6 separate regions of the Homo sapiens genome follow, and all the other regions are linked to region 1. The links are contacts of gene promoters, found by promoter capture Hi-C in human tissues and cell types (Jung and others, 2019). All regions are on one chromosome and are shown on one strand. Each heading gives the region's core, a stretch centred on a gene start or on the middle of the fragment in contact. The rest is flanking DNA. Distances are from core to core; before and after follow the strand shown. Region 1 holds the start of UBE2I (ubiquitin conjugating enzyme E2 I). Region 2 holds the start of WFIKKN1 (WAP, follistatin/kazal, immunoglobulin, kunitz and netrin domain containing 1). Region 3 holds the start of RHOT2 (ras homolog family member T2). Region 4 has its middle 12 kb from the start of HS3ST6. Region 5 overlaps MEIOB (meiosis specific with OB-fold). Region 6 holds the start of HAGH (hydroxyacylglutathione hydrolase).

Evidence for each region. The method cuts DNA at HindIII sites, captures the fragments that hold promoters and counts their contacts. A contact is called where the count stands out against the background at its distance.
Region 2: a contact is called between the fragment with the promoter of WFIKKN1 here and the fragment with the promoter of UBE2I in region 1, in 1 of the 25 tissues and cell types used here (dorsolateral prefrontal cortex).
Region 3: a contact is called between the fragment with the promoter of RHOT2 here and the fragment with the promoter of UBE2I in region 1, in 4 of the 25 tissues and cell types used here (dorsolateral prefrontal cortex, lymphoblastoid cells, mesenchymal stem cells and 1 more).
Region 4: a contact is called between a fragment that was not itself captured here and the fragment with the promoter of UBE2I in region 1, in 1 of the 25 tissues and cell types used here (dorsolateral prefrontal cortex).
Region 5: a fragment that was not itself captured here is called in contact with the fragment with the promoter of UBE2I in region 1 in 4 of the 25 tissues and cell types used here (H1 embryonic stem cells, IMR-90 fibroblasts, aorta and 1 more).
Region 6: the fragment with the promoter of HAGH here is called in contact with the fragment with the promoter of UBE2I in region 1 in 2 of the 25 tissues and cell types used here (IMR-90 fibroblasts and dorsolateral prefrontal cortex).

Annotation. Positions count from the first base shown.
Region 1 is chr16:1,307,328-1,311,407 of GRCh38, reverse strand. UBE2I (ubiquitin conjugating enzyme E2 I) reads right to left here and starts at 1,772. Exons shown (of 7, transcript NM_003345.5): 1 at 1,635-1,772. RefSeq lists enhancers at 651-1,262, 1,964-2,203 and silencers at 1,234-1,423, 1,624-1,923, 2,414-2,703. The HindIII fragment of the contact is 23,762 bases long and covers 1-4,080 here.
Region 2 is chr16:629,300-633,379 of GRCh38, reverse strand. WFIKKN1 (WAP, follistatin/kazal, immunoglobulin, kunitz and netrin domain containing 1) reads right to left here and starts at 2,395. Exons shown (of 2, transcript NM_053284.3): 1 at 1,956-2,395; 2 at 1-798. The coding sequence starts at 2,126. RefSeq lists enhancers at 2,302-3,036, 3,217-3,511, 3,037-3,770. The HindIII fragment of the contact is 11,828 bases long and covers 1-4,080 here.
Region 3 is chr16:666,882-669,409 of GRCh38, reverse strand. RHOT2 (ras homolog family member T2) reads right to left here and starts at 1,278. Exons shown (of 19, transcript NM_138769.3): 1 at 1,174-1,278; 2 at 999-1,057; 3 at 841-922; 4 at 711-754. The coding sequence starts at 1,210. It overlaps WDR90 (WD repeat domain 90), which reads right to left. Exons shown (of 41, transcript NM_145294.5): 40 at 2,421-2,505; 41 at 1,580-1,978. The coding sequence ends at 1,821. RefSeq lists silencers at 811-900, 1,001-1,100, 1,161-1,500 and an enhancer at 886-1,567. The HindIII fragment of the contact is 52,780 bases long and covers 1-2,528 here.
Region 4 is chr16:1,928,489-1,932,568 of GRCh38, reverse strand. No RefSeq gene overlaps it. Among named protein-coding and RNA genes, the nearest start is that of HS3ST6, 12 kb to the right of the region's middle. The HindIII fragment of the contact is 5,872 bases long and covers 1-4,080 here.
Region 5 is chr16:1,850,489-1,854,568 of GRCh38, reverse strand. It overlaps MEIOB (meiosis specific with OB-fold), which reads left to right. Exons shown (of 14, transcript NM_001163560.3): 7 at 369-469; 8 at 1,298-1,350; 9 at 1,435-1,530. Among named protein-coding and RNA genes, the nearest start is that of MEIOB, 20 kb to the left of the region's middle. The HindIII fragment of the contact is 5,559 bases long and covers 1-4,080 here.
Region 6 is chr16:1,824,397-1,828,476 of GRCh38, reverse strand. It overlaps HAGH (hydroxyacylglutathione hydrolase), which reads left to right and starts at 1,652. Exons shown (of 9, transcript NM_005326.6): 1 at 1,652-1,765. The coding sequence starts at 1,690. FAHD1 (fumarylacetoacetate hydrolase domain containing 1) reads right to left here and starts at 1,271. Exons shown (of 1, transcript NM_031208.4): 1 at 1-1,271. The coding sequence starts at 1,238. The coding sequence ends at 573. RefSeq lists an enhancer at 1,052-1,241 and a silencer at 1,332-2,301. The HindIII fragment of the contact is 9,774 bases long and covers 1-4,080 here.

The DNA of each region.
Region 1 (4,080 bases), core at 523-3,022:
GTGCACACCCACCGTGTCCCAGACAGAAGCCAGGCCCCTCCCCCTGCACCCCCTCCTACTGGCCTTCTGGAGAAAGCGGCCAATCTGTTACAATGTAATCACAACACAGATCAAGCGTTCAAAATTCCGCTGAAAATCGAATTTGCCCTTCCAAATTCACAGATAGGCACTTAGTGAACGGCTAGTAGTTACTAAACGCTTCAGAGCAAGAAACTTTTATGATGCAAAGACAAAAACAACCCTCATCTATTAGAGCCAGGCAAGGCCCAGACACTGCAGAAACGGGGACAGGGCCGGGCACTCCAGGAGCGGCCCGAAAGTCTGCCTTCTGTCCTCCTGCTGGGCGCCCGCAACCGGCTGAGCTTTAGCTTCTCGGATCACCGCCTTGCTCTGCTGGTTGACAGCACCGACTTCAGAGCAACTTCCTGGCTGAGGGTGAGCAAAGCACTCACCTCCCACAACTCCACCGCACTGATCTCCACAACGGGTGGTCGCCACGACAGGCTGGCACAAGAAGCCTTTAAAGGCCCTCCTGCACCCAAATGCAAACTCTCCCAGGCTTGGGGAGGTATTCCCTTCTGCAAGACCCAAGCACCTGCAGTCGGGAGACGCTTACCTGGCCGCACCTGATCTGCCCCAGGCCCCGAGAATGTTTCTGAAGCAAGATCCCAAACCCTGAGACACCATACAAGCGCACACCAGCAATCACCCAGTGGCCTAGGGAACGGACCTCTCTGAATGAGCAATCAGGGCAAACTGAGGATCCGTCCCGTCTTCCGTTGCATAGGTTCTCTACCCAAAGGCAACGTTTCTTGAAGAGCAAGAAACACTTGGGGTAGGTCCTGTAAAAGGAAACAAACCGAACTCCCCAAAGACAGGCACTTTGCAAACAGAGAAACTAAGCGTAACTTCCAATTATACAAACAAAACCACTTCATTCTGCGATTCAAGCGTGACTACAGGCCACGATCACAAGCCCAACTAATCATTCCCTTACATTCCTCCTACGCACGTTAACTACCAGAACCAACTACTATTCAACCGATAAAAAGAGATGTCCAAAACAGAATAAAACTCCCCCTCCAGCGAGGCGCTCACGTTCAGGGCCCCAGCAAGCGCCAGCGGAGCATCTTCAGAGGCACAAGAAAACTTACACTTGTTTTGGTTTTAAGGCACCGAAAACAAGCCCGCTCGCCGGCCCCCACCCCCGCGAGCCAGCGATGTTGCAATCCAAGACTCTCCCCCCGCGGCCCATCCTATCCGTCCGCGGGGCGACCGTGACCCCGGAAGCCGCTCCCCGCGCAGGAGGAAGGCGCGGCCTCGCGGGGCCCCGGCTGCAGGTGGCTGCCCCGGCCCCGCGCCAGGCGCACCTCGGGGGCGAAGTGGGGGAGCCCCGGCCCCGAAGGCCTGCGGCGGCCCGGCCGCTCGGGCCGCAGCCCAGCGGCGCCAGCAGCGCGGACCGAGCCGGCGCCGAGCGCGGGGCCTCTCGGGCTCCCCGGAAAGCTCGGCCGCGGCGCGGGGCCCGGCTCGGCGGGGCGGGGCGCGGGGCAGTCGGGGGCCCGGGCCCAACAGGAGTAGAGGCCTCGGCCCGACCCCCGCCCCGCGGCCCCGGCCCGGCCCCCGCACGCGCTCACCTCGGGCGGCCGCAGCCCCGGCGAGCGTAGCGGACAGGTGGAGGACCGAGCGGGGCGGCGGCGGCGGCGCTTCCCTTTGTCTCGGGACTTCCCTCCGGAGCCCGCTCCGCGCGCAGCCAGAGCAGCTCCGAGGACCCTGGCGCGGGCGGGGCGCGCGGGGCGGGGCCTAACGCGGGGCTGCCCTCTGCACGCCTGCCTCGCGCGCCGCTCCTGCCGCCCGGCCCCGAGCGCCTCCCGCGCCGCCGAGCGCTCCCCGTTGCCCGCGCCCCGCCGCCGCGCGCCCGCGCCCCGGGTCCGCCCCAGGAGCCCGGCCGGGGGGCGACTTTCCAGTCAGGCGGCGCCCTGGACACCTACGCCCTTAAAGGAGCCGCGTCCCCGATGTGAGGGAGCGTCTGTAAACTCCCCTTCGGGCTGCCCGCGTCCACCCGAGGACACGCCGGCAAGCAGCGGGGGAAAAAGGAAGCCGAGATCTCCAAAGGCTCCCCGGATGCCTGGCGGTCACCTCTCCAGCCACAGGTCCCGGAGGTTTCCTTGGGGTCAGGTCCTGGGGCCGGGGGTCAAAGACCACTGAGGCCTAAGGATCCTCTGAAGCGTCGCAGGACGGTGACGCTCCCGCGAGTTCAGCGCCCTGTGAAACCCCTTGCAATTGGCCAGTTCGGGGCGGTAGGCGGGGACACCTTCTCATCCGCCCAATGAGCTGACCCCGTACAAAAGGCCGAATGCGAGCATGACCGACGGGAGGAGAAGTGTGGATGCTCCCTAAACCGGGGGCTGGCCCTGGGCCGGGGCGCGGGCGGGACGTGGGGGACCGCGAGCGGCGGGGGCGGGGCGAGCCCGTGGGGGAGGGGCGCTTCCGGTCCCCCCTCCCGCCCACGCAACAAGCAGGACCGGGTCGGGAGGCCCCCAGACCCGCGAGCGCGCGGGACAGTCCGTTCGCCAACGCGCGACCGTGCTGGCCCCCGGGCTCTCCCGGCCCCCCCGCCCGCATTTCGCCGACGGCGGGGCCGCAGCCAAGGTCACGGTGTCCGGGTGCTTGGGGACCGCGGGGAGTGACCACATTCATTCATTCCCTCCCTCACTCATTCATTCATTCCCTCCCCTACTCCGTCATTCCCTCCCTCACTCACTAATTCCCTCCCTCCCTCACTAATTCCCTCCCTCCCTCATTCATTCGATCCCTCCATCACTCAATCATTCCTTCCCTCTCTCACGCATTCCCTCCCTCACTTACTCATTCATTGCCACCCTCACTCACTCATTCCCTCCCTCACTTACTCATTCATTCCCACTCACTCATTCCCTCCCTCACTCACTCATTCCCTCCCTCACTCATTCCCTCCCTCACTCACTCATTCCCTCCCTCACTCATTCCCTCCCTCACTCATTCATTCCCTCCCTCACTCACTCATTCTCACTCTCACTCATTCCCGCCCTCATTCATTCATTCCCGCCCTCATTCATTCATTCCCACCCTCATTCATTCCTTCCCTCCCTCACTCATTCCCTCTCTCATTCATTCCCTCCCTCCCTCACTCACTCATTCCCTCCCTCACTGATTCCCTCCCTCACTGATTCATTCATTCCCTCCATCACTCATTCATTCCTTCCCTCACTCATTCCCTCCCTCACTCATTTCCTCTCTCATTCATTCATTCCCTCCCTCCCTCACTCATTCCCACTCTCACAAACTCATTCCCTCCCTCACTTACTCATTCCTCCCTCATTCATTCCCTCCCTCATTCGTTCATTCCCTCCCTCATTCATTCATTCCCTCCCTCCCTCATTCCCTCCCTCCCTCATTCATTCATTCCCTCCCTCATTCATTCATTCCCTCCCTCATTCATTCCCACCCTCCCTCATTCATTCCCTGCCTCCCTCACTCATTCCCTCCCTCACTCATTCATTCCCTCCCTCCCTCACTGATTCTCTCCCTTATTCATTCCATCCCTCACTCATTCCCTTCCTCCCTCATTCACTTCCTCCCTCACTCATTCATTCACTCCCTCCCTCATTCATTCATTCCCTCCCTCCCTCACTCATTCCCTCCCTTACTCATTTATTCCATCCCTCACTCATTGCCTCCCTCCCTCATTCCCTCCCTCTCTCCCTCATTCATTCATTCCCTCCCTCATTCATTCCCTCCCTCACTCATTCCCTCCCTCACTCATTCATTCCCTCCCTCACTCATTCCCTTCCTCCCTCATTCATTCATTCCCTCCCTCACTCATGCATTAATTCCCTCCCTCACTCACTCATTCCCTCCTTCACTCATTCACTCCCTCCCTCCCTCACTCATTCCCCCACCACCTCCCACAGGGTCCCCAGCGGGCATTTCCCTGTCAGGCACCTGCAGCAGGAGGGGCAGCCACACACCCTGGGTCTGCCTGCCTGGGAGGCGCAGCCGTGGGGATGTGGGTCCAGGGCAGCAGGGGCAGCCTCCCCCAGA
Region 2 (4,080 bases), core at 1,146-3,645, 680 kb after region 1:
CCGCTGCGGGTCGTAGTGCCAGAGGACAAGGTGTGGGGAAGTGGGGCCCGTGCAGGCCTGCACATCCGGCAGGCACTCGGCCGGGGCTGGGATGCTGGGGGCTGCGTCCCTGGCCGGCTCTCGCTGGACCACAGAGAGTGGGAAGTCAGCCCGCAGCAGCCCAGCAGCGTTGCGCGCGGTGCAGGTGTACAGGCCGGCGTCTTCGGGCCGCGCGTTGTAGAGCACCAGCTGCCCGATGCTGGTGACCACCACGTTGCCATACATCTGATCAGGGCGCATGATCAGGTTCTCTCGCTGGTGACTCTGCTTCTCCCAGGTCACAGCAGGCGGCGGGCGGCCGCTGACGTCGCAGTGGAGGCTGGCCGTACCCCCAACCTGCACCGCCTGTGGGGAGGGGCTGCTGTACAGGGCAGGAGGCACGGGCGCGGCCCCAGGTGTGGGGCGGGCAGTGGTCTCCGGCGGCCCCGGGCTGCTGGGCGGCCAGCTGAGCACGTGCTTGCAGGGCACGATGTGGAGGTGCAGGCCCCGCAGGCAGGCCTCGGCGTCCATATAGCAGCGGTTGTAGTAGGTGAGGCCGTCCGAGGCGCAGGTGAAGCTGGGCTCCTTCTCACAGCGGTCGCGGCAGCGGCACACGGGCTGCCCGTCCCAGATGTCGCAGTCCGAGCCCTGCTGTGGGCACACAAAGCCCTCGCAGGAGGCCGCTGTCGTCGGCGCAGCTGGGCTGCCGGGGAAGCGTGCTGCCACGCAGCTGTGCAGTCCACACACGTTGATGCAGCACTTCTCAGCAGCCGCACAGTCCTGGGGATGGGGGACACTTAGGTGGGAGCCCCAATGCCCCCCGCCCCGGGGCTCTGGCCTGGCCCCTGCAAGGGGAGGCCCAGGTGGGGTAGCAGGGAGCCCCCCGCTCTGTGGCTGCCTCCCCGGGGACTCAGTGTCCTTTCCATCCTGTGTGAGGAGCCACCTCGCCAGAGGTGCCACCTGGCTTACCTTCCAGAATCCTCACACCCACAAGCAAGTTCCGTTATTCTTTACGTTGTACAGACGAGGAAACTGAGGCCCAAGGAGGGCGTACAGTGCTCAGGACCACCCAGCAGGTGGTGCGGGCCAGGACAAAGGCTGGACATCGGCTGCAGCACCCCCACCACCATCTGCACTGGTCCCGGATGGAAGGAGGGTGGGAGGACAGGGAGGACAGTGGATGGAAGGAGAGGGTGGGAGGAGAGGATGGAAGGAGAGGGTGGGAGGAGAGGATGGAAGGAGAGGCAGTGACGGGGTGGGAGAAGAGGATGGAAGAAGTGGATGGGAGGAGTGGATGGGAGGAGTGGATGGGAGGAGAGGGTGGGAGGAGAGGCAGTGAAGGGGTGGGAGAAGTGGATGGGAGGAGAGGATGGAAGGAGAGGCAATGACGGGGTGAGAGAAGAGGATGGAAAAAGTGGATGGGAGGAGTGGATAGGAGAGGATGGAAGGAGAGGCAGTGATGGGGTGGGAGAAGAGGATGGAAGAAGTGGATGGGAGGAGTGGATAGGAGAGGATGGAAGGAGAGGCAGTGACGGGGTGGGAGAAGAGGATGGAAGAAGTGGATGGGAGGAGTGGATGGGAGGAGAGGGTGGGAGGAGAGGATGGAAGGAGAGGCAGTGAAGGGGTGGGAGAAGTGGATGGGAGGAGAGGGTGGGAGGAGAGGGTGGGAGGAGAGGCAGTGACGGGGTGGGGGTGGTCGCCGAGGATGATGGTGCCCCAGGGTGGAGGCACATGGGGAGCATGAAAGCTGGAGTGGGGAGGGCTCTTATTCTTAAGACAAATGAGGGCAACGATGGGGGTGTCTCTGGGCCCCTTAAGGGGCCCAGACCCAGACCCCCCAGAAGTCTGGGGAGCCCAGGCAGAAGGTGGCACCTCCAGCAGGGTCTTGCCCAGGCTGGCTGCTCTGAGCCCCAGGACCCCGGCCCGACCACACTCACCTGGTCCCTGCTACACTCGCGCTCACAGGTGCTCTGGGCGTCCACCCACAGGTTGGGGCTGAGCTGGTTGGGGCACACGCCCGGGTGGCTCCCCAGCCCTGGCAGCAAGCCAGCCCCCGAGGTCAGCCGGAGGAGGAGCAGGAGCGGCAGGAGTGGACGTAGGGCGGGCATGAGGGCCGCCGAGCCAGGGGGCCGGGGGGTGTGGCCACCAGCCCCTCCTCGGGCTCCACAGAGCCCAGCTTCCTGCAGGCATCCACCCTCCGGGCCTGTGGTCGGTGCCCCCACCAGGACCCCGGGGCTCCCTTTTGCCCCTGAGGCTGAAGCCTGCAGCAGATGCTTGTCCTGACACCCCTGCTGGGTGGGTAACGGGGTCTCCAAGTTCTCAGAGGCCGTCTGTGTGACGCTGGTTCCTCTCCAGCTTCAGCCTGGCCCCTCTGTCTGAACCGTGCGGGGGCTCCCAGGCCCTGGTCAGCACAGGGCAGAGGGGAGGAGGTTGGGGAGGGGCCAGAGGCCCATGAGCACAGAGCCACTGGCCATGAGGGTCACCGGGGCGGGGAAGGGCTGGCTCTGGCTGGAGAGGGGGAGGGGAGGGGACCCTGTAACCTGAACCCCTTCGTCCACCCCTGGGCTGAGATCAATCTCCTTGACGACCCTCAGTAGGGTGGGGGCAGGGCCAGCAGATCCCAGCTTTTGTCCCTGGCGCCCTCTGGACCCCAGGCTCCTATGCCATGGGGGTGGCAGGCACGGGCCCTCCCCGCAGAGCGTGGCTGACCACAGCCTGGGTCCCCCGGGCCAGGTCCAGGCTGGCAACGGTCACGTGCGGCCGAGGGCTTCACTCCGCTCCGAGGTTCCTTCCCCCCTCCATGGCTGTTTCAGGGGCACAGGGGTCTGCAGGACGCCCAGCACAGCCCGGCCTCCTCTGCTCTGCTGCCCCTGTTGGAGTGGGGCCCAACCCGGCAGGACTGCATTCCCAGAGACCCCATCCCTGAAACCAGGCAGCGGGCTTGGGGCTCAGGCCTGTCCCCAAGGCGGGGCAGGTGCAGCAGGAAGAGGCCTGTGGCCACCACAAGCATAAGAACAGCCCGAAACGCTGATGCCGGAGCCTCGGCCCACGCACCGTGTAGCCCTGGACGTGGCTCCGCGTGGGATGGCACCGCCCGAGGGAAGGCCAAGTGCAAGGGCGTCTGCAGCTGAAAAGAGCAAGTGTCCCAGGGCACCAGAGCCTTGCCCTGCCCCAGCCCCCCGTCGGCGGGGCACACATCCCCAGGCTGGCTCCTCTTCGTTGGGGAGGGCAGGGGGCTGGCCTGCCTGGTGCAGCAGGACAAAAGGCTGCCTGGAATCTACCCTTCCAAACCCTCTGTGGCTCCAGATGTCTGGGGCCTCAGGGAGTGGTTCTCTTGAGACCGGATGGGAGTGTCCCCCTGACCCTGTGTCTGACCTCTGACCCAGGAGGCAGGGTAACAGGAGCCTGGTCTGGTCAGAATGAGACCCGGAGACGGCTCCAGGCGCCAGTCCCTGCTCTACAAGGAGACTGGGGGTGGGCCCTGATAGCGTGGGGGTGGGGGTAGCTAGGCCAGACCCAGCAGCAGGCGGCTGGGCTGGAGCTGCCAGGGAGGGGCTTAAGGCCCGGACATGCCCACGAAACAGCACAGGGAGGCACCTGAGCCAGAGGCTGTGGTCTGGTCCCTGTACCAACTGGAGTGCCCCGTTCCAGCTCAGCTGTGACCTCCGGGGCGTCCACACCCCCCTGGGCCGGGCATAGCAGACACCAGATTGGCCAGCGTGCAGGCGGCTCTGCTGAGCGGGCCGACTGACTGGAGGACCTGGCCCTCTGGAGTCCTGCTGCTGTTGGGGACAGTCCGCCCCAGGCCATCTGCTGCCGGGGACTGTGAGCGAGGGCTCAGCACAGCCCAGCTGGGATTCCATCCACCGGGAAGAGGAGAATGGCCGTGACCAGGCCCAGCTGCTCCAGCCCAGCTCCAGCCCTCACTTTGAGGCGAACCCAGCCAACCGCGGCAGGTCAGCCCGGTCAGCGCAGGGAACAGCAGGCAAAACAAAGGCCAGAGGTCAGTTTGCCGGGTATGAAGCAGCACTGGCCCCTGGCACGGGGCACCGCCACTGCCAG
Region 3 (2,528 bases), core at 29-2,528, 640 kb after region 1:
AGCCTTCCCTAAAACCTGCCTCCAGCCTGGTGTTGGCAGAGCAGGCACTCCCCAGTGTCACACTGGGAGCTGCTGCTGAACCCTCAGAGAAGCCTCTTCCCCGCCCACTGCCAGTGCAGGGACACCAGGCCCCAGAAGCATAACTGTGGTCAGCAAGACCCTTGGAGCAGAGGGCTCAGGACAGACACGGCCACACCTGCAACCCAACACCCTGCAAGACAGCCGCCGCCTTGGCCCCTGCCTCCCCCCTCGCTACAGACAGAGTGACAGGACCGCAGTGAGGGGTGCCAACAGCAGGGGCTGCCCTGGGTGGCTGTGGCCTGTGCCCTTGCCTGGAGATGTCCCCGGCACACGTGCTCTGGTACTGGGAGCTCCGGGTGCCCGGAGGCCGGGACGGTGGGCTGGAGCACACAGCACGGGGACGTGGCGCACACAGAGCCCACAGGAAGAGCAAACGCTGCTGCCACCCCGGCAGGAGGGAGGGAGAGCCCGCGGGGAAGGGTCCTGTTATCCCTGGAGCACCACTGGACTGAGCGGTGCCGGCTCCCAGCGGGGTGCGCTGTAGGGGCCCCGACAACCCTCAGTGCGGAGGTCACAGAATTATCAGGGCCAAGGACACCCGGAGCACCTCGGTCCAATCCCCCAGGCTGCGAAGCGGATTAGGCCGAGCCCGCGCCCAGCCCCTCCCTCGTCCCGCGCACCACGGGTACCTTGTGGATCTCCTCCCGCAGCTCCTCGTCCGTCTGCTCGGCTTCTAGGGGGACAAAGAGACTCCACTGCGGACCCAGCAGGCCCGCCGGACCGCTGCGGGCCGGGCCCCCGGGAGGCTACGGCCGCTACCTGAGTAGTCCACGATGTGGGTGGGCACCTTCTCCGGGGTGACGTCCGCGGGGATGGTGATCTCCTCCGCGCGGGGAGGGACCTGCAAGGGACCCGCGCGCTCACCAGGGACCCCCGGCTGGGCCCGCTCCCACCCCCGCGGCGGGCGTGCCCCTTACCTCCTCGGGGAACTCCTCGCCCACCAGGGACAGGATCAGCGACGTCTTCCCCACCTGGGCTGCGCGGGGCGAGGCGGTCAGCGCGAGGGCCAAGGTCACGGCGCCCCCCGACCCCCGAGACCCTCACCCCGCCTCACGGCCGCCGCAGCTCCGAGACCCCCGGGCCGGCGCCTACCCTCGCCCAGTAACAGGATGCGCACGTCCCGCCTCATAGCTGCCGCCCGGAGCCGCTCCCCGACCCGGAACCCGGCCCCGACCTGGTCCTCAAGCCTTTCGCTCTGCCCCCGCGCCCGCCCCGCACTTCCGGTTCTCGGCCCCGCGCTGTCCCCACACTTCCGGCCCCGCCCGCACAGCCGCACCAGCGAGCCGGGCGGGCCAGAGCGGACAGGCTGTGCGGCGCGCCACCGTGTGGACGCGCCGGCCACGGCGGACAGCGCAGGGTCCTGGCGCCCTGGCAGGCCGAGCGGCCATTGCTTCACGGCACCACAGGGGCCTTGACAAACAGCCGATTAAGGGACGGGCAGAGGCTGAGCTCAGGCCAGGAGTGACCAGAGACAGCCAGTGCAACAATGCAGCAATAATGCAATAAATGCCCATGTTTATTACAAGATAGAAACATTAAAGATTTCTTAGGCAAAAGGGCAACAGGTATGAAAGTATTCACAGGGCGCCAAATTTACAACAGCTTGCTCCAGGCGATTTACGTGAATCCTGGCCTGTCCCAGCATGAGGCCATTGACAACCTGGCGCCTCTGCCAAGCCTGTGTCCAGGTGCCTGGCATGACCAGGCGTGATGCCCACCACCACAGTCCCTGCTGCATCTCAGAGGCCGGGGACCTCCCACACAAGGATCTCGTTGCGGGCGGCCGTGAAGAGCAGCCTGGCGGACGGTGTAAACCTGCACAGGTGCACTGCGTTGTCGTGGCCGGCAAAGTCTTGGGCAGTCCCCATGGCACAGTCTACCAGCCTCAGCATGCACTCTGTGGGTAGACGGTGCAGGTGGGCCAGGGCCAGGACCAGGCAGCACTCAGAGGGCTCCCCCAACCCACCCAGACTGTCCCCACTGGGCATGATGCTGGTCGGGGGAGCTGGTGCTAAAAGGGCTCCTGGCTGTGCCCTCCACGTGCCACTGGGACTAGGGGGTCCATCACTGCCAGGCTGTCGGCCTGCAGCTGGGCCAGTTCCCTCCTTAAAAGTCGCTGCCACCCGTGCATTCAGGCCCTGTGCTGGGCGCTGTGCCTGGTTCCTCACCTGCCTCATCATCTCCTGACTCCAGGACCCTCTCTAGGGCAGATGTCCTCACCCCACCCCAGAGACGAGGAGCCCGGGGCACAGGTGAGGCACCTGTCTTGGAACAGGGCACCAGTCAGCCCACTTGGCCCCCACCTAAGACAGGCCCAAACTGCATCCACCAGCACTCACCAGCAAAGCCAACAGCCAGGAGGTGGGTCCCGGGGGACAGGCTCAGGGACATGGCAAAAAAGGGCAGTGGTATCTTCTCCACCACCTGTGAGCAGCCAGCGTGAGGCT
Region 4 (4,080 bases), core at 766-3,265, 620 kb before region 1:
TGATGGCGGGTCTGGCAGGGGGTGCACAGGGCTCCCAATACTGTTCTAGGCAGCCAGTTCAGGTCCTCTATGCCCACACCTGTCCCTTTCTGCTTCTCCCTGCAGGAGGAGCAGTGGCTCTGGGAAGGGCTCTGTGGGCAGGTCCTGTGGAAGGCGGCTCTGCTGCGGCAGGGAGGGAGCTGCTGAATGGGCAGCAGGCTTCCCAGGCACAGGGCCAGGCAGGGGCCTGGGCTGTGCTGCCTTCTCCCAGCACTCCCAGCTCTGCACCTGGGGCCAGTGTTTCCCCGAGAGTGGACTCAGGCCCAAGAGCAGACTGGCCTTCGCCTGCAAACTGGGCCCCTGTGTGCAGGGTTTTGTCCCCAGGGCTGTCTACCAGGCTCAGGCCGGTAGCTGGGTGGCTGGAGGCCTGCTGGCGCCTGGGGATCTCAGCCACAGCAGTGCAGGGGTGGTGATCCTGGTGGGGGCTGGGGAGTAGTGCCTCCTGCCTGCATCCCAGGGCCCCAGGCTCATCCAAACATCCATGTTAAGGTGGTGGGCCGGACACAGTGGCTCACGCCTGTAATCCCAGCACTTTGGGAGGCCGAGGCAGGTGGATCACCTGAGGTTATGAGTTCTAGACCAGCCTGACCAACATGGAGAAACCCCATCTCTACTAAAATACAGAATTACCCGGATTACCCGGGCGTGGTGACCCATGCCTGTAATCCCAGCTGAAGGGGAGGACTGCCCCTCCACACCTGTGGGTATTTCCAGTCGGGTGGGACGAGAGACTGAGAAAAGAAATAAGACACAGAGACAAAGTATAGAGAAACAACAGTGGGCCCAGGGGACCGGCGCTCAGCATACTAAGGACCTGCACTGGCACCGGTCTCTGAGTTCCCTCAGTTTTTATTGATTATTATTTTCGTTATTTCAGTAAAAAGGAATGTAGTAGGAGAGCAGGATGATCATAAGGAGAAGGTCAGCAAAAAACATGTGAACAAAAGAATCTATATCATAATTAAGTTCAAGGGAAGGTACTATGCCTGGATGTGCACGTAGGCCAGATTTATGTTTCTCTCCACCCAAACATCTCAGCAGAGTAAAGAATAACAAGGCAGCATTACTGCAAACATGTCTCACCTCCCACCATAGGGTGGTTTTTCTCCTATCTCAGAACTGAACAAATGTACAATTGGGTTTTATACCGAGACATTCAGTTCCCAGGGGCAGGCAGGAGACAGTGGCCTTCCTCTATCTCAACTACAAGAGGCTTTCCTCTTTGACTAATCCACCTCAGCACAGACCCTTTACAGGTGTCGGGCTCGGGGACGGTCAGGTCTTTCTCATACCACGAGGCCATATTTCAGACTATCACATGGGGAGAAACCTTGGACAATACCCTGCTTTCAAGGGCAGAGGTCCCTGCAGCTTTCCACAGTGCATTGTGCCCCTGGTTTATTGAGACTGGAGAATGGCAATGACTTTTACCAAGTATACTGCTTGTAAGCATTTTGTTAACAAGGCACGTCCTGCACAGCCCTACATCCCTTAAACCTTGATTTCATACAGCACATGTTTTTGTGAGCTCCAGATTGGATCAAAGTGGTTGGGTCAAAGTGGCTGGGGCAAAGCTACAAATTAACAACATCTCAGCAAAGCAATTATTTAAAGTACAGGTCTTTTTCAAATGGAGTCTCTTATGTCTTCCCTTTCTACATAGACACAGTAACAGTCTGATCTCTCTTTCTTTTCCCTACACCAGCTACTCGGGAGGCTGAGGCAGGAGAATCGCTTGAACCTGGGAGGCTCAGGCTCAGCCTGGGAGGCTGAGGCTCAGGGAGGTTGTGGTGAGCCGAGATGACACCATTGTACTCCAGCCTGGGCAACAAGAGCAAATCTCCGTCTCAGGAAAAAAAAAAAAAAAAAGATGTGGTAGGGAGGTGGGGGTGGGAGGGGGCAAGTGGGCTCAGGAGGTGGGGGGGGTGCCGGCAAGCAGACTGCTTGAGTGGGGAGACGGGTGAACCGCAGGACCCCAAGGCCCCCTCACATTGAGAGTCCAGGGAGGGATGGCTGTGGGCAAGGTCTGTATGCCAGGTCACCGGAGGAGGGGGTGGTGTTTCCAGCAATGGAGCGTCTGGTGTGGAATCAGTCACCTTACCCTCCCGCTCCTGCTGGGTGATACCCCATCCTTGCGGCTGCCCCCGCGTCTTCCTTGAGGAACAGCAGACTCTGAGGGGGCAGCCCCTTCCTCCCCAGGGCACGGCCTTGCCCCTCAAGGGTTGGGTTCAGGGGCAGCGGGCAGGCCTGGGCACGGCTGGGCCGTCACCTCGGGCGAGGGATGGGGAATAAAAAGGAACTCTGTCTGAGACACCGTGATCCCTCGCCGGGGCCCAGGCCTGGCTCAGAGCAGCCACCAGGAAGCGTCTGCGGCCCGTATGGGGGAACAGACCATACTTCAGACCCTTGCTCAACCACCGCTTTCCGCTCTCTCAGTGGCAGGTGCCGCGCAGAGCCTGGCCCTGGTGGGGCTGTGGCCCCTGGTGGGGGTGGGGGCCGTGGGCAGCTCCCGGGAGGCTCCTACCCGCGGACGGGTCGGCAGGTGGGAGGAGGGGGCGTCCGGTAGGGTCGGCGAAGGCGCCGAGGCCACGTGCAAGCCCCGGCCCTCGAGGCGGCCTCCCGGGCCCGGGCGCGGGACCGTGCGCAGGACTGACCAGCAGGGGGCACGCTCGCTCGGTGCTGCCAGGCCGGGTGGTCTGCGTGCGCAGGCGCGGCGGGGGGCCTGACGGCGCTGCAGTTCCCCGGGTGGCCGCGGGGGTTGCGGCGGAGGCAGCGAGCGTCCGCGCAGAGAAACCGCCTCGGCCACGCCCGCCCTTGGGCCGGTGCTGGGGACCCAGGCCGAGGCCTCTGGTCGTCTGAGGGTGCCAGGGGCAGCTGCAGGGGGTTTGCCGGGCTTCACGAAGTGACCGCTACAGGGAGTGCAGTCGCAGCCACGGGTGCCCCTTCCAGGGTCACCGGAGGACAGAGCCAGGGGCGGGGGCGGGGGTGGCGCGGCCGGTGGGAACGGCAGGCGTGGTTGGGGGCGCGGGTGGAGGCAGGACGCCCCCAGCCCCTTCTTCAGGGCAGCTGCGTGGGACCCAGGCTGCCCGGACCTGGCCCGCCCTCAGGGCTAGATCCTAGGGTTCCACATCCCAGGCCTCTTTCCTCCGCCCACCTCTCCCCGCTACAACCCAGGCAGCTCCTGGCTGCCTTCCCCCAACCAGAGTCCTCTCTGCAAAATAATAACCAGACCAGGTCCCTCCCTCAGAGGTTCCCACAGTCCTTGCCTGCTCTGACCTAGGCTGACCCCACCTCTCCAGCTTGATTTCCTACTCCATAAATGAGATCGGTGTTGTTTATCATAATTACAGTTTGGGGTTGTTTCTTTTTTTTTTTTTTTTTGAGACGGAGTCTGGCACTGCCGCCCAGGCTGGAGTGCAGTGGCGCGATCTCGGCTCACTGCAAGCTCCGCCTCCCGGGTTCACGCCATTCTCGTGCCTCAGCCTCCCGAGTAGCTGGGACTACAGGCGCCCACCACTGCGCCCGGCTAATTTTTTTGTATTTTTGGTAGAGCCGGGGTTTCACTGTGTTAGCCAGGATGGTCTCGATCTCCTGACCTCATGATCCGCCCAGCAGGGCCTCCCAAAGTGCTGGGATTACAGGCATGAGCTACCGCGCCGGGCCTGGTTGTTTCTTCTTGAGAAGGGGGTTTCTCTGTTGCCTGGGCTGGAGTGCAGTGGCATGACCATGGATCACTGCAGCCTTGAATTCCTGGACTCAAGCGATCCTCCCAGGTCAACCTCCCGAATAGCTAGGACTACAGGTGTGCTACTACGCCCCGCTAATTTTTGTATTTTTAGTAGAGACAGGGTTTTGCCATGTTGTCCAGGCTAGTCTGGAACGCCTGGGCTCAAGTGACACTCCCGCTTTGGTCTCCCAAAGTGCTGGGATTACAGGCATGAGCCACTGTGCCTGGCTAATTTTTTAAAAAAACTTTTTGTAGAGACGTGCTCTGGCTTTGTTGCCCAGGCTGATCTTGAATTCCTGGGCTCAAGGGATCCC
Region 5 (4,080 bases), core at 709-3,208, 540 kb before region 1:
TCCACGCTGAGCCATGGGGATACAAAGGTGCTGGAAACACAGTCCCTGCCCTCGAGGAGTCCACGTAGATGCCCCAGAGGGGCCTGTCATGGAGCTTTGTTGTGACATGTTAAAAAGACTTTCAGTCTCTACTTCAAGCACCTGTCTCCCTGTGTCTCTTCAAAGTGTTGTGTGACTTACAACTTCAGCTACGTACATGTAGTTTAGAGATAGATGCTTTAAAATAATCAACTATATATTACTGGTTCTTGCTAGTTTAATATTTCTAATTTGGTGTTTAAAAGGTGAACATTTGAGTATTTTCATCAACAAATACTTAAGAACTTCTACATATAGGTGAAGAGTAATGATTTATTTCCATTTCTAAGGTTGGAGAGCCAAAATACTTTACAACTTCAGACCGGAGAAAAGGCCAGAGGTGTGAAGTTAGACTCTATGATGAAACAGAGTCGTCTTTTGCGATGACATGGTAAACACCGATGTCTGTTCCAAACTGTGAAATCCCTGTAGTTATCACCAGGACATTTTCATTTTATCAAAAATATGATGGACTTCATATCAAGAGAGGATAATGATAGGAGATGAATGATATTTTAAAAAATAAATCTCACTCTTGAATGTTGAGTTGTTATGGATACCACCTTAAAATGAGGTCTTTAGATGGCATGGAATTGCTTAGGGGGACTCCACCGTGCCCAGTTTTATTATTGAATTCTGTCGTGTAACAAATGATGTTTTATTAGGTCCCATGGAACAAGCCAGAGTTTCCCTCTGTGCTTCCTGGGAAGTATCCTGGAGCAGGGCAGGACACAGGGGCACGTGGGCCAGGGTGGGGACTGCACCCTGAAGCACTGCCAGGTACAACAAGGCATTGTCTAGACCTCTGATGCCTGGGTACCAAAGGAACTGATTTCAAAAATGTCTTCAACCCATCAAGGCCCCTGAGCAGTTTATCCACTGGGGGACACTCACCTTCATGGTCTGAAAGTGTGAGTTTAAAGTCTTCAGGCTTTAGTTCTAACTAGCCTGGAGTGATTAAGTGTTGGAAAAATAAATTAAGAATTGGCAGAGCAGAGTATTACTAGAGGAGAGTGTGTGTTGAAGGAATGTTCTCTCATGGAGTTGTTAAATTCTCCCTAGGAGGAAGCTGGCATGCTTAAGACTAGGAGGTCTTTGACCACCTTGGGGATGGCTGACCCCAGCCACTGAAGCTTTCTTTTATTGTTGTAAATAATATGTCACTATCAGTTTTTTCTAGTGTATTCAATTTGTATTACTTCTTTTTAAACAAATGCAGTTGGGATAATGAATCCATTCTACTTGCACAGAGCTGGATGCCACGAGAAACAGGTATTATCATTCAATGATTGTGTCCAATATTTGTCATTTATATCCTCCCATGTAATAATTTTAAATGGCTTTTTTCCCAAACAGTAATATTTGCCTCAGATGTAAGAATAAATTTTGACAAATTTCGGAACTGCATGACAGCAACTGTAATCTCAAAAACCATTATTACAACTAATCCAGGTAAAAAACTTTGTGAAACCTTTTATCCCTTTGGAAATGACTGAACACATTTCAATATTTATACAGTATATTTAAGAATGAAAATTCAGCCTGGATTTAATTCAAATTAGAAGTAAAAATTGCTTTATATAACTTTTTTAAAAACTTACAATGAACTTTGATATCTTTACTAAAGAAATGTGAGGTCGGACGTGGTGGCTCATGCCTGTAATCCCAGCACTTTGGGAGGCCAAGGCAGGTGGATCACCTGAGGTCAGGAGTTCAAGACCAGACTGGCCAACATGGTGAAACCCAGTCTCTACTAAAAATATAAAAATTAGCTGGGCTTGGTGGTGGGCGCCTGTAATCCCAGCTACTCGGGAGACTGAGGCAGGAGAATCACTTGAACCCAGGAGGCAGAAATTGCAGTGAGCTGAAATCGCGCCATTGTACTCCAGCCTAGGCCACAAGAGCAAGACCCCGTCTTAAAAAAAAAACAAGGCTGGCGCGGTGGCTCACACCTGTAATTCCAGCACTTTGGGAGGCCAAGGTGGGCTGCTCACGAGGTCAAGAGATTGAGACCATCCTGGCCAACATGGTGAAACCCTGTTTCTACTAAAAATAGAAAAATTAGCCGAGCGTAAAAGTGTGCGCCTGTAGTACCAGCTACTCGGGAAGCTAAGGCAGGAGAATCACTTCAACCCAGGAGGTGGAGGTTGCAGTGAGCCGAGATTGCACCACTGCGCTCCAGCCTGGCGACAGAGCGAGACTCCGTCTCAAAAAAAAAAAAAAAAAAAAAAAAAAAGTGAAAAACCAGATTAATTTTAAAGTATAATTCATTGTGATAATTTTTGAGAGATCGATTTTATTGCTTGGATGCTAAATTATTGACTAATAGGTAAATTCAGTTTTGCTACATTCAAATAACTTTTACTGCTAGGACATTGATAACACATGCATGCGTGCACACAGTACTCTCTGTGTAGTATCATTAGCTCATAACTGCACATTAAATGCCCAGATGATCCCCTGGAGTGGTTGTTGAAGGAGTTACAGTTTATTACAGCATGAAATCAAGGAAGCCAGATTGGGGAGATGAGGGATTAGTGCCTGTGAGCATTCCCAGGGTGCTTTATAGTGCAGACATAACCGTCAAGCCAGTACTGCTAAAGAAATGGAGTAATCAATCCTTTGCCATCTCATGAAGCTATGAGTACAGTATGTAGTGTATCATTTAAAACATACGCTCACGCTGCTGGTCTGTAACAAAGCATCAGCAGTGACAGAATTATAAAGCAATGTGTGCTTTTGACCAAACCATTATCAGCATTTTTAAAAGATAGAATTACTATGAGGAATGGTGTAAAATACTGAGACTCTGGTTTTTATATGAGTACTCTGAATCTTGCACATCCAACACATGGATGTTGTCTCCTTGAAGGCAGCACCATGGGAGGAGATGTGCATGCCCCGAATTGCTCTTCACTGAACTAATTTACTGAGCATGTGCTGTATGCTGGGTGCTGTTCTGGGGTGCAACGACAAAATGGATAAATATTTCCACCCTCATGGAGTTTACCCTCCAGCAGGGAGAGACAGAGAATAAATAATGAAGATAATATGTCCGTGAATTATGAAATATTTAAGGAGAACAGGTGGAACAGAGTCAGGAGGACCTAGAGAGCCACAAGGTGGTCGGGCACGCTGCATGGGAGAGTGACGTTTGAGCAAAGACTTGATGAGGAGGCTAAAGGGATAACCAAGGGAAAGCCCTGTGCCTATGTGTGGGAGGAACACCCAGGGGCTGGTGTGGCTGGAGCCCAGGAGTTCAAGGCCAGCAGGAGCTGTTCTGAGAAGAGATGGGGCACCCAGGAAGAAGGCCTCGGAGGCTGTTAGAGTGCACTGGCTTCTGCTCTGGATGGGGTAGCAGGCTGGGGTTTGGAGCAGAGCGGTGACAGCATCTGACTCGGCTCTGAGAGGTTTGCTCTGACTGCTCTGTTGGAAATTGATGGTGACACACGATAGTCTATTATCAACACTTAGGACAACAGTGCAACACTCTTCAGTTTTTTCTTTCCTGGAGGGAGGTACTATGTATGGTTTATTTATTTTAATTTAATTTTATTTATTTTATTTTTTTTGAGACAGTCTCACTCTGTTGCCCAGGCTGGAGTGCAGTGGCGTGATCTCGGCTCACTGCAAGCTCCGCCTCCCGGGTTCACGCCATTCTCCTGCCTCAGCCTCCCGAGTAGCTGGGACTACAGGCGCCCGCCACCATGCCTGGCTAATTTTTTGTATTTTTTATTAGAGATGGGGTTTCACTGTGTTAACCAGGATGGTCTCAATCTCCTGACCGTGTGATCTGCCTGCCTCAGCCTCCCAAAGTGCTGGGATTACAGGTGTGAGCCACTGCACCTGGCCTATGTATGGTTTATTATTAGAAATAACTTATTAATAAAAATAGTTTATTATTCTTTTTTTTTTTTAAATGGAGTCTTGCTCTGTCCCCAGGCTGGAGTGCAGTGGCACAATCTCGGCTCACTGCAGCCTCCGCCTCCTGGGTTCAAGCGA
Region 6 (4,080 bases), core at 403-2,902, 520 kb before region 1:
TAATCCAGTTTTACAAAAGGAAAGTCTTTTTAACATTTGGTTTGATAAAATGTTTTCCGAAGAAATACTTTACTTGCCTGTTTTCATTTCTGGCCCACCCGTTCTACTTCACGTTTTCTTGAAGGGTTCATCTTCTATGAGTTGAGGCATAGCAATCTAATCATTTTTAAAATAAATGGTTTCTTTTTTTTTTTTTTTTTTTGAGACGGAGTCTCGCTGTTGCCCAGGAGTACAGTGGCGCAATCTCAGCTCACTGTAAGCTCCGCCTCCCGGGTTCAATTGATTCTCCTGCCTCAGCCTCCAGAGTAGCTGGGACTACAGGCGCCCGCCACCACGCCCGGCTAATTTTTTGTATTTTTAGTAGAGACGGGGTTTCACCCTGTTAGCCAAGATGGTCTGGATCTCCTGACGTCGTGAGCCGCCCGCCTCGGCCTCCCAAAGTGCTGCGATTACAGGCGTGAGCCACCGCGTCCGGCCAATAAATGGTTTCTAATTAAAGGATTGTGACATTTAATAGCCGTTGCTTGCTCTTGTCTTGCTCCCTTCTCTCTCGAAACTTGTTAAGAAATAACTCAATATTCTGGCTTTTCCACTTTAAATGTCATACTGACCAGCCCGTGTATGCCAGCCTCGATCTCATCGTTTTCTTTAACCGGTCCAACTCCCTTTGGCGTCCCAGTCAAGATAATATCTCCTTCTTCCAAGGTTATGATCTTAGAAACATAGCTGATGATGTAGGGGATGGAAAAAATCATGGAGGATGTCTCACCCTCCTGTCTGAGTTCGCCGTTGACCTTGAGCCAGAGCTTCAGCTTGTGAGGGTCAGGGATCTTCTCCTTGGGCACGAACGCGCTGACCGGGCAGGACGCCGTGAAGCTCTTCGCCAGAGTCCAGGGCAGCCCCTTCTTCTTGCACTCGTCCTGCACGTCCCGGGCGGTCATATCCAGGCACAGGGCATAGCCGCCCACGTAGTCCATGGCCGCAGCCTCGGGGACTGCGCGGCAGCGCTTGCCCATCACCACGCCCAGCTCCAGCTCGTGGTGCAGGTTGCGAGTGTACGCGGGCATGAGGATGGGCGAGCCCTCGGGCGCGTAGGCCGTGGACGGCTTCAGGAACAGCACGGGCTCGCTCAACACCGCGCTGCGCATCTCCCTGACGTGGTCCGCGTAGTTCCTCCCCACGCAGACGATGTTCTTTCCCCACTCCCAGAAGCGGGACAATGGCCTGGATGCTGCCATGATTCCCATCAAGTGCCCCTGTAGTCACGTGGGCTGGGCCGGTCAGCTGATGCCTACGGCATCCCGGAGAGGACCAACTGCCTCGGAACGCTGTCCCCCGCAGCGACGGCCCGTTCCACCTCGCGATCTGCCGGGTACCCGGGCGGCGTGGCGCTCGGCCTCCAGGGATCCACTGTGCGGTGCCAAAAAAGAGGCGGAGGCTCGCGGCACAGCTCTCCCGGCGCAGCTCTCGGGCCGCCGCCGCCGCTCCCAGGCCCGTCTCCCGGCCCGTGGCAGTCGGGGCTCGCGGACAAAACAAGTTGAGCGCGAGCGCGTTGATTGGTTGGCGGACGGTGCGAGGTGGACGCTGATTGGCTGAGGGCAGCGCGAGGCGGGCGCTGATTGGCTGCGACGCGCCGACGCCGGTGTTTTGCAGTCCTGGGCAGCTCGGCAGTCCAGCCCGGCCCGGGTCATGGTGGTGGGCCGAGGGCTGCTCGGCCGCCGCAGCCTCGCCGCGCTGGGAGCCGCCTGCGCCCGCCGAGGCCTCGGTGGGTGCGGCGGGGCGGTGCGGGCCGGGGGACGCGGGCCTGGCGGGGCGGGCAGCGGGCGGCGCCGGGCCGTCGTTTGGCGACCGCTGACGCGGTGTCTGTTGCGCAGGTGCCTAAGGCCGCGCTGCCGGGCTCGAGCGGAGGCGGCGCAGGCGCTGAGGCTGGCGCGGAGCGGGCGCGGGGCCGCGGGTGCGGAAAGCGCTAGGTAAGCAGGGCCAGGCCTGCGTCCGCCGCGGCCTCCACGCTCGGGCTGGGCCGGCCGCGCCCCTGACGCCTCCAGGGCATCGCGTCCTGCCCGGGCCGGCGCCGAGGAGAGCCTGGGGCGCGGCTCTGAGGCGCAGCGGGCAGGGCCCCGGGACGCCTGGCCCACCCCGCACCTGCTGCCCCGCTGCAAGGACCGCGGTCTCGCGGCGCCGCCTGCGGTGGTGGAGCTGCCCGCCCGGCGCCGGAGCCCCCGTCTGGGGACCCGGCGTGTCATTCGCCCGAGGTGGTCGCGCGGCCGGGCCAGGCCAGCGCCCCGGGCGGGTGCGCAGCGCAGGGCACTGGGCGGGCGGAGGCGCAGACAGGGAGGCGTCCCTGGCGGTTTCCAGATCTCGCCGAAAGCTGTCAAGGCTCTGCAGGGGGTAGAATGTCGCCATTGCTAAGGAAAGGACATGGATTTTGAGGTCCTCAGAATTACAGTTTTAGGGACATTCATAAGGGTCCAGGCAGAGAGTTCCAGCGGGACTGTGTGCATCGGCAGGGCGTGCGTACCCCATTCTAAGGGAGGCCCCAGCCCCCGTATTTGGTGCCGCCCAGTTCAAGGGAAGCAAGATGCTGTGAAACTTCCTGATTTAAAAAAGAAGTGCAGTGACGCACGCCTGTCATCCCAGCACTTTGGGAGGCCGAGGCGGGAGGATCGCTTGAGTCCAGGAGTTCCAGACCAGCCTGGCAACATGTTGAGACCTCATCGCTACAAAAACTAAACAAAATCAGCCGGGCGTGGTGGCACACAACTGTAGTCTCAGTCACTTTGGAGGCTGAGGTGGGAGGATCGCTTGAGTCCAGGAGGTCGAGGCTGCAGTGACCCTTGATCGCACCACTGCACTGTAGCCTAGGGGACAGAGTGAGACCATATCTCAATTTTTTTTTGTTTTTGGGGCCAAACCGAACATGTTTCTGGACTTGGTCCAGGCCCCAGGCTGCAGGTCCTTGACCTGTTTGTACAAAGTATTACAGTTACAAAACAGCAAGCCGGGAACATTTGCCAGGCAGTGCTGGGCTGAGTGATATGGAAAGGGAATACGGTTTCTGCTGGTGTTGGCACCAGCTGCGTCTTTCCTCAGAAATAAAGGCACCTCCCTGGGTTGTCAGCTTCTTCAGGAGGCTGTGATGGTCTCCAGGGGAGGCTGAGCACCAGTTGTAAATGACATTTTCTTCGCCTGGGCAGTGCAGTGGCCAATCTCGGCTCACTGCAACCTCTGCCTCCCGGGCTCAAGCGAGTCTCCTGCCTCAGCCTCCTGAGTAGCTGGGACTACAGGCGCTCGCCACCACGCCCAGCTAATTTTTGTATTTTTTAGTAGAGACAGGGTTTCACCATATTGGTCAGGCTGGTCTCGAACTCCTGACCCCGCGATCCGCCCGCCTCGGCCTCCCAAAGTGCTGGGATGACAGGCGTGAGCCACCGCACGTGGGCAGTATTTTTGTTTGTAATGTTCTGCTCCTTGTTTGTAATGGAGCTCCTTTCCAGGAGGACGCCCGGCACTCGGAATCCTGTCACAACCCTTCTGCACCCCACCTGCAGCCCCCAGCACCCACACTCTGCTTGTTGTGCTCCTTGGGCTGGGGTGGTGCTGAGGCTAAGGGGAAGGGGAATAACACAGGAAGCTGCTCATATAGAAATCTTGGTATTATTGTTCCTGAGGAGAATGATCTGGAAAATGCCCAGCTGGTTGTCAGGCGGGTAATAGGATATCTTTGTGCAGTGATTGAAACTATAGTTTGGGCAGTTTCCCCGGCTGTGGAAATAAGGTCGGATTCCGCATTTCGGTGGGCCCTGGAGACGCGTGTGTCTGTCAGTTGGTGGCTGCTGCCCATTTCTGGATCCCTTTTGGGAGAAGCCCCTGCCGTGGCACCTACCCCAGGACTGCACTGTCCTCTGCCACCTTCTGTGGTTTCTTCCCCGTGTAGAGCGGAACTGAAGGTATTGTCGGGGCCCCCAGGTATTTTTAGATTTAGTAGGAGTTTCATTGCTGAAAATATTTTTGCATTGGTCGACTGGGTGGCAGACACTTTTGTCCCTTGGTCACCCACTCCTCCCAGCTCTTGGGCCTTCT